Regions from separate parts of the Homo sapiens genome. Here region 2 is linked to region 1. Evidence: promoter capture Hi-C in human tissues and cell types (Jung and others, 2019). All regions are on one chromosome and are shown on one strand. Each heading gives the region's core, a stretch centred on a gene start or on the middle of the fragment in contact. The rest is flanking DNA. Distances are from core to core; before and after follow the strand shown. Region 1 holds the start of CTSS (cathepsin S). Region 2 overlaps LOC112268239 (a long non-coding RNA gene).

Region 1 (4,692 bases), core at 1-2,500:
ACACCCAGCTTAAATATTTACTGAAAACACTGCCTGTAAGAACACAATTTTAAGAGGTAGAAAACAGTACTCCTTTAAAAGCATATCGCTCGAGTGGCAATCCAATCTACCTTTTCCTTGTATTGTTTGCCATAGGTTTTCTTCCAGAGATGCCAGTGGTGATCCAGGGTAGGATCTTTATGCAACTGTGCCACTGCAGAGGAGCACACCAAGAGCACACAAACCAGCCGTTTCATTCTGTGTAAGGAAAGGTAACATAGGAAGTGTTGCTATTAGCTGCATATGTTGTGACCACATGTTTTCATAAGAGAAAATAACAATGCAAAGTCTATCAAAGGGACAGACTATTATAAACAGAATTATACAGGAAAATTCCTGGGATATATAGTCACAGGGAACAGCTGCAGATTTATGTCAGAAATACTACTTCCAATGCTTAGTAGCACTTTAAAAAGTGATTTCCAGGAATTTCCCAATATCTGGTAAACCAAACACATCTAGAGGGTTAGAAAACAGGGACTTTCCAGGATTTGCCAACAAATCTAATCAAAGGAAATCTCTTTCTCTCTCTCTCAAAAAAAAAAAAAAATCATCCTTAAGAGAGACAAACCTCTGAAAAATCAGTTTATCTCCTGAATTTTTGAATACATGGGCTCTTCTTAACTGACCTGTTTAAATATCCACAGTCTTTACAGATAGTTAAAAGACAATTCTCATCTATTGCTTTCACATCTTTAGGTAGGTAATTTTCCTTTTTACGTTTTTTTTTTTTTAATGATCAGACATCTGTTTCAAATGAGGCAATTAACTACTCTTTAAAATGCCACTTCTGTATTTAATTCAAGAGACATCAACAGAAATTCAGCGACTAGCTCCCTCAAACTGGATTCTACTTTCTTTTCCATTTCTTTTTAATTGAAAACATCTGGAATTTTAAACATGTAAGCCTTTAAATTATATTCCAAAGAAAGCCATGTTTCAGTCTCAACTTAGATGCTTAGATGCTCAAGCAGACATTAACTTTTTAAAAATAGAGAAGAGGCAAATTGAACGACACGATTTTTTAGTTTACTTCCTGAAACCAAAGATTTAAAACCTAGCAGGCAGAACAAGTTACAAACACAGAGTGTTTGAAGACCAAATGGGAGAAAAAGAACAAAGAGTACATACGTGATAGAACCAGCAGTTGCTCCCACAGTAAGAGTCCTTGAATTAGTGGGCTCTCTTCTAAGATTTCAAAGCAACAAGGAGATTTCAGTTCAATTGACTTGAAAAGAAATTGGAACTTGTCACATGAGGTACTCAAAATGAGGAAGTGAACTTTCATTTCAGTTTCATTTAAAATCTAGCTAGTACAGTCACCTCTAGTCATTTCCCTATGGTCTTGGGGACAAAGTGGATACAGTAAGCCATCAAGAAGAGCCCTTGTCTGAGCCCAGTGGCTCATGCCTATAATCCCAGCACTTTGGGAGGCTGAGGCGGGAGGATCACTTGAGGCCAGGAGTTCAAGACCAGCCTAGGCAATATAGTGAGACCCTGTCTCTGCAAAAAAATTTTTTTTAATTAGCTGGGCATGGTGGTGCATGCTTGTAGTCCCAGCTGAGGGGGAGGGTGAGGTGGGAGAATTGCTTGAGTCTAGGAGGACAAGGCTGCAGTGAGCCATGATTATGCCACTGTGTTTCAGCCTGGATGACATATCAAGACCCTATCTCAAAAAAAAAATTAAATTGAATTTTAAAAACACCAACTTTTACATGGAAAACATTTAGTTATAAAGAGATTTAGATAAAGCTCCCCAAATCCCAGCTCCTTGTATGATTTCCTAGGAAAACCTGTCTTACTGCTTTTAACACAACTCATTCATGATCTGATATTGTCTGGTTCTCACTCAGCCATTCCTTCGTTCATCAAACTCAAAATGTCTTTATTAATATATACTATATGTATAGTTTAGTAATATGCGTGTGTGTGTGTGTGTGTGTGTGTATGTGTTAGTATATTCATGGAAAAAAGGATACACTCAAATATATCCAATTGAGAATGATTACCTGGGTGGGGTGGGAGCAAGACGAACTATCATCTTTTAAATTTGCATTTTCCTAATTACTAATGAGGTTGAGGATCTTTTCACACATTTATTGACCGTTTGAATTTTCTGTGAATTTCCTGTTCATCTTTTTTGCTCATTTTTCTATTGTATTGTTGCATTTTCTTAGTGATTTGTGGGAGGTGTGTGTGTGTGTGTGTGTTGTGTGTTTTCCGAGACGGAGTCGTGCTTTGTCTCCCATGCTGGAGTGCATTGGTGCGATCTTGGCTCACTGCAACATCCACCTCCCAGGTTCAAGCGATTCTCTGCCTCAGACTCCCAAGTAGCTGGGATTACAGGCACCTGCCAGCATGTCCAGCTAATTTTTGTATTTTTAGTAGAGACAGGGTTTCACCATCTTGGCCAGGCTGGTCTTGAACTCTTCACCTCGTGATCCACCCGCCTCAGCCTCCCAAAGTGCTGGGATTACAGGTGTGAGCCACCGTGCCCGGCCAAGGTGTATGTGTTTTAAAAATATATTCTGGCTTCTAATCTTTGACAGTTATATACCCTTAAAAACATCCTCCCTTAGTCTTCCACTTGTCTTTTATTTTATTTTTTCTTCCTTTGCATAAGCCTATGAAATTCCACTTGTCCTTTAGTCTTGTTTATAGTGAGTTTTTCTATATGAAATTTTTTTATGTTGAGGTAGAACATTTTATTCAGCTTTTCCGTATAATCAATCTATACTGTTTTTGTATAAGAAAATTTTCCTCATCCAAATGTAATAAAGATACACTCATCTTATTTTTATACTTTCAGAGAGTGTTTTATTTATCTTTTCTATGGCTACTGCTTTTAGGTGTTTAATTCACCTGGAATTTAGTTTTGTGTATGGTATGACGTAGGGAGCTTATTTTCTTTGTTTTCCAATTTTGATTCTACCTCTATTGTACACCAAATTCTCATACATAGATAGGTCAGTTTCTGAGCTCATGAAGCTGTTCTTTTTATCTTTTGCTACTTCAGTATCACACAGTTTTAATTAAAACAGCTTTGTAATATGTCTCCACGTATGGTAAGGCAAGTCATCTAGGCCACCCTATCTTTGTTCTTCTTTTTAAACATTGTCTTTGTATTTTGTACTTGTTAACTCTTCTTTATATGAATTTTTTGAATCAGTTTATCAAGTTCCCTGAAAAACTCTGTTGGAGTTTTTTGCTTTTTTCTTTTGGAGACAGGGTTTCATTCTGTCACCCAGGCTGGAGTGCAGTGATGCAATCATGGCTCACTGCAGCCTTGACCTCCTGGGCTCAAGTGATCCTCCCGCCTCAGCCTCTGGAGTGGCTGGGACTACAGGTGCACACCACCATGCCTGGCTGATTTTGTTTTTTGTTTTTTGTAGATAAGGGGTTTCACCATGTTGCCCAGGCTGGCCTCAAACTCCTGGGCTCAAGCAATCTGCCCACCTTGGCCTCCTGAAGTGCTGGGATTACAGGCATGAGCCCCCACATCTGGCTATTAGAGTTTTTATTTGAATATATGCATAAATTTAGGGAGAAGTAACATCATTATAATGTTGATTCATCTCAGCTGTAGTAGACATGTTTGTGTTTGTAGCCATACAGTTTTTTTTAAAAAGATACTGCTTATGGAAAATTTAAAACACATGTAAAAGTAAAAATAGTAGTAAAATGAGCTGCCGTGAAACCATTGTCTTGTTTCAACAATGATCAGTACATGGCCAATCTTATTTTATTTATATTCCCACTCTCACTACCTGAATTATATTAAATAAATTCTAGACATTCTGTCATTTCATACGTAAATGTCCCTGTGTGTGTCTTTAAAAGACAGAGACTATTAAACAAATATAATACCACAATACCATCATCACATCTAAAATAAATGAACAATAATTTTCTTTTTTTTTTTTTTCTGAGACAGAGTCTCACTCACTTGCCCAGGCTGGAGTGCAGTGGTGTGATCCCAGCTCACTGCAATCTCTGCCTGCCGAGTTCAAGCGATTCTCCTGCCTCAGCCTCCCAAGTGGCTGGGATTACAGGCATGTGCCATCACACCCAGCTAATTTTTGTATTTTTAGTAGAGATGGGGTTTCACCACATTGGCCAGGCTTGTCTCGAACTCCTGACCATAGGTAATCTGCCCACCTCAGCCTCCCTAAGTACTGGGTTTACAGGTGTGAGCCACTTTATTGTCATAAGAAATTAAGACAATAATTTCTTAATGTCATCAGACATCCTATCAATGTTCACATTTTCTGGACTGTCTTATACATTTTTTAATAGTTTGTTTGAATTGAGATTTAAATAAGCTCCATATATTGTGAAACCATTGAGTTATGTTTATATCATTATGAATTCATGGATTTAAACATATTTGATGTGTTTCAATCCATTCCAGTTTTATCCTTATTGATACTCATATTGTCTCATTTTTGGTCTGTAGGAATTTATTCAAACTGGCTCTTTGGTGCAGACAGAGTTTGTATATTTGGCATAATATTAGTACTCTTTAAAAGCTTCCTTTCTTTCTAATATGACAGGCTATTGCAGGTTTGTCTTGAACAATTCCTGCCCCAGACCTGGAATCAGCCATTTCTCCAAGGAGCTCTGGTTCCTTTTAGTGGAAACAATGTTTAAATA
Region 2 (4,692 bases), core at 561-3,060, 130 kb before region 1:
GCTCTTTATGGAGATAATTTGGTGGTAATGAATAAAAAGACTCAGAATTCCAAGCAGAAAACTACCAGAGATGAACAGTCTAGCCGAGTCCTCTGCAAACGTTAGGTGGGAGATAATTAGGATTTAACCTAGAAACGTAGTAGTTAAGAATAGAAAATAGTGAACCTAACCAAGAGAGTCTGTGACAATGGAATCCACTAGACTAGCAGCTGACTGAATAGAGAATGAGAAGACTGTGTGCCTCAAGGTGATTATTTATAGAAACAATAAATTCAAGAAGAGGAGTCAATTTGGGAATGGAGCTGAAAAGCAGAGAGAAAATAAGGCATTCAGTTTTGAAAACATGGACTTTTTTTTTTTTTTTTTTTTTTTTTTGAGACGGAGTCTCGCTCTGTCACCCAGGCTGTAGTGCAGTAGCACAATCTCAGTTCCCTACAACCTCTGCCTCGCGGGTTAAAGTGATTCTCCTGCCTCAGCCTCCCGACTACAGGTGTGCGCCACCATGCCCGGCTGATTTTTGTATTTTTAGTAGAGACAGGGTTTCGCCATGTTGGCCAGGCTGGTCTCAAACTCCTGAACTCAGGTGACCTGCCTGCCTCGGCCTCCCAAATGCTGGGATTACGGGCGTGAACCACCGTGCCCGGCCTGAAAACATGGACTTTATTAAAAGCGAATGAACCATTTGGTGGAGACATCCAGGCAATGAAGACTTAGGATAAATGACCTCTAAGATCTCCATATCTGAAATTTAAGGGTTCTAGGAAATGTAAGTGTGGGAGTTTGGGAGAAAAGTAGACGCTGAAGATGTACAAATTTTGGACTTTTTCACATAAATGTAAGTAAAGTTGTGGAAGTTGATGGGATCACAAAGGAGAATGTAGGAAAAAAAGAGGTTCCAGTCAGGTGCGGTGGCTTACACCTGTAATCCCAACACTTTGAATGGTCAAGGTGAGAGGATCGCCTGAAGCCAGGAGTTTGAGGTTACAGTGAGCTATGATCATGCCATTGCACTCCAGCCTAGGCAACAGAGTGAACCCGTCTCTTAAAAAAAAAAAAAAAAAAAAAACTCCCAAGACAGAAACGTGGGGAAAAGTTGGCAAAAGACATACAAATGATCAGAGTGGTAGGGAGAGAATTAGAAGAGAGAAGAGCCATGGAAAGCAAATGAAGAAAGGGAGGGCAGGTTGTCAATGTTAAATGTGATACAGAAATTAAAGATGGAGGTGATAGAGGTCAATCGCAAGACGTTAAGGAGCGAGGAGGTGGTACCAATATTGAACAGTGGTAGCAATATTTAACAGTAAAGCAAGGAAAGGGCAGAGCTGTAGCAGCAGATTTTCTTTTGGGGAATAGGCAAGACTCAAGCATGTTTTTAGAAAAGGCGAATGAGGCTGGATGTGGTGGCTCACGCCTGTAACCCCAGCACTTTGGGATTCATCTAAAAGATGAATAATTCTTTTGGGAAATACTTTCTGATCAAGCTATTTCTAATTCCAAGCTCTGCTTAAGAATAATGTGTAAAAACTATGATTGCTAAAGGAACGATTGATTTAAATTATACATTTGTCCTTTTTTTTGAGACTGAGTTTAATTCTTGTTGCCCAGGCTGGAGTGCAATGATGTGATATCTCGGCTCACTGCAACCTCCCCCTCCCAGGTTCAAGTGATTCTCCTGCCTCAGCTGTGGGGAAAAGAAAGAGAGATCAGACTGTTACTGTGTCTGTGTAGAAAGAAGTAGATATAAGAGACTCCATTTTGTTCATCTTGTGAGTCGATGGCGCACGATTGCGGTGTTTCTGTCTCCGTGGAGGTGCTTTTCTTTGCATCTCCGATGGGTTCATTGTAGAACTTCAAATGTCTAGTGGGTATCCAAACAGGAAGCTGATTTTCTCCTGGTGAAACACAAGCAAAACCTCTCCCCCATGTTACCACCTTCCCTATTTCCCATGTCTTATTTTTATTATCTTTCTACCAAATCAGTTTTCCTTCATGTGGGCTGTTCTTTTTACCAGTAAGATGTTGTTCTGCAGAAGTAGTAGTCTGATTTCTATAAATGTTTAAAAAATATAAAGTGCTAGATTAAGTTGCATCTGAGGCGTGGTACATTCCTTACTGTCTCCCCCTTCTTTTTATTTAACTAATTGAGTTTTGAGTGTTCTATTAGTTCTTTCAACTATGGCCTGTCCTTGGGAATTATAAGGAATTCCTGTTGTATGTGAAATTTTCCACTGACTTAAGAATTTTTGGAAAGCTTTACTACAGTATCCTGCCCCATTGTCAGTTTTAATTTTTTCTGGAACTCTCATTACAGCAAAACAAGGTAATAAATGTTTTTTAACATGGGAAGTACTTTCTCCTGTCTGGCAGGTTGCCCATATGAAATGTGAATAAGTATCAACTGTTACATGAACATATAATAATCTTCCAAATGAAGGTACATGCGTGACATCCATTTGCCGTAATGCATTAGGACACAGACCCCTGGGATTAACTCCTGCCTCTTGAGTGGGCAGGTGTAGGACTTGACACTGGGTGCAATGTCGTACAATATCTTTTGCCTGTTTCCATGTGACATCAAATTTGTTTTTTAATCCTGCTGCATTTACATGAGTCAAAGCATGAAATTTTTGTGCTTTTATGAATGCAGATGATACCAGTAAGTCAGCTGGTTCATTTGCTTTAGTCAAAGGCCCTGGTAAATTAGTGTGTGCTCGAATATGAGTAATATAAAATGGGAAATTTCTTTTTCTTACAGTTTGTTGTAATAAATTGAATAGCTGGTTTAACTGATCATCCATGCTATATTTAATTAGAGCTGTCTTTACATCCCTTGTAGCCTGTACTACATATGCAGAATCTGATACAATATTGATAGGTTGATCAAAATCTTGTAACACTGTAATGACTGCAACCAACTCTGCCCTTCGAGCCAATTGATATTGAGTTTTGATTACTTGCTCTTTTGGCCCTGTGTAAGCCGCTTTTCCATTGCTGGAACCATCAGTAAACACTGTCAGAGCATTTTCTAAAGGTTCACGTCTGGTAATTTTAGGTAGAATCCAAGTAGTTAATTTTAAAAACTGGAAGATTTTTGTTTTTGGGTAATGATGATCAATAATTCCCACAAAATTAGCAAGACCAATCTGCCATGCACCAGAATTGATAAAGGCTTGTCTAACTTGTTCCTTGGTTCAAGGGACAACTATTTTGTCTGGGTCATTTACACACAATTTTATTATTTGTAATCTTGCCTGACCAATTAATGTAGCTATTTGATCCAAGTACAATGTAAAAGTCTTAATTGTACTGTGAGGAAGGAATGACCACTCCACAAGATCAGTATTTTGAACAGTGATGCCTGTTGGAGAATGTGCAGTAGCAAAAACCAAAAGTTGGAGTGGGGCTAAGGGATCTATTCTATTTATTTGCACTGACTGAATTTTTTGTTCCACTAATTTAATTTCTTTTATTGCCTCTGGGGTTAATATTCTCTTACTATTTAAGTCTGAGTCTCCTCTTAAGATAGAGAACCAATTTTCGAAGCATCAAAAGCCCATTTAAATTTGGTACCAGAAACTGAGGCAATCGCAGGAGTGACTGATGGCCTCGCAAATCTTAACCCTGTCACTTGGGTTAAGACCATCGGAAGTACTACTATTATAAATTTCGTATTAATCCTTGTGTGCCTGTTTTATCTGTTGTTAGTCTGCAGGTGTACCCAGCAGCTCCGAAGAGACAGCGACCATCGAGAACAAGCCATGATGATGATGGTGGTTTGTCGAAAAGGAAATGGGGAAATGTGGGGAAAAGAGAGATCAGACTGTTACTGTGTCTGTGTAGAAAGAAGTAGACATAAGAGACTCCATTTTGTTCTGTACTAAGAAAAATTATTCTGCCTTGAGATGCTGTTAATCTGTAACCCTACCCCCAACCCTGTGCTCCCTGAAACACGTGCTGTGTCAACTCAGGGTTAAATGGATTAAGGGCTGTGCAGGATGTGCTTTGTTAAACAAATGCTTGAAGGCAGCATGCTTGTTAAGAGTCATCATCACTCCCTAATCTCAAGTACCCAGAGACAATACGCTGCGGAAGGCCGCAGGGACCTCTGCCTAGGAAAGCCAGGTATTGTCCAAGGTTTCTCCCCATGTGATAGTCTGAAATATGCTGGCCGGGAAAGACCTGACCGTCCCCCAGCCCAACACCCGTAAAGGGTCTGTGCTGAGGAGGATTAGTAAAAGAGGAAGGAAGGCCTCTTTGCAGTTGAGATAAGAGGAAGGCATCTGTCTCCTGCTCGTCCCTGGGCAATGGGATGTCTCGGTGTAAAACCCGATTGTATGTTCCATCTACTGAGATGGGGAAAACCGCCTTAGGGCTGGATGTGGGACATGCTGGCAGCAATACTGCTCTTTAAGGCATTGAGATGTTTATGTGTATGCACATCAAAAGCACAGCACTTTTTTCTTTACCTTGTTTATGATGCGGAGACGTTTGTTCACATGTTTTCCTGCTGACCTTCTCTCCACTATTACCCTATTGTCCTGCCACATCCCCCTCTCCGAGAAACGCCCAATAATGATCAATAAATACTGAGGGAACTCAGAGACTGGTGCCGGTGCGGGTCCACTGTATGCTGAGCGCCACTTCCCTAAGCCCACTTTTCTTTCTCTATACTTTGTCTCTGTGTCTCCTTCT

Evidence for each region. Contacts are between HindIII fragments. The study calls those that stand out against the background at their distance.
Region 2: a fragment that was not itself captured here is called in contact with the fragment with the promoter of CTSS in region 1 in 1 of the 25 tissues and cell types used here (lymphoblastoid cells).

What each region holds. Positions count from the first base shown.
Region 1 is chr1:150,764,528-150,769,219 of GRCh38, forward strand. CTSS (cathepsin S) reads right to left here and starts at 1,251. Exons shown (of 8, transcript NM_004079.5): 1 at 1,171-1,251; 2 at 111-237. The coding sequence starts at 236. RefSeq lists enhancers at 142-191, 1,122-1,266, 1,125-1,269 and cis regulatory regions at 1,194, 1,197. The HindIII fragment of the contact is 11,511 bases long and covers 1-4,692 here.
Region 2 is chr1:150,631,126-150,635,817 of GRCh38, forward strand. It overlaps LOC112268239 (a long non-coding RNA gene), which reads left to right. Exons shown (of 2, transcript XR_007066603.1): 2 at 3,706-4,601. Among named protein-coding and RNA genes, the nearest start is that of ENSA, 3.9 kb to the left of the region's middle. RefSeq lists enhancers at 1-151, 3,264-3,889, 3,890-4,515, 4,516-4,692. The HindIII fragment of the contact is 5,269 bases long and covers 1-4,445 here.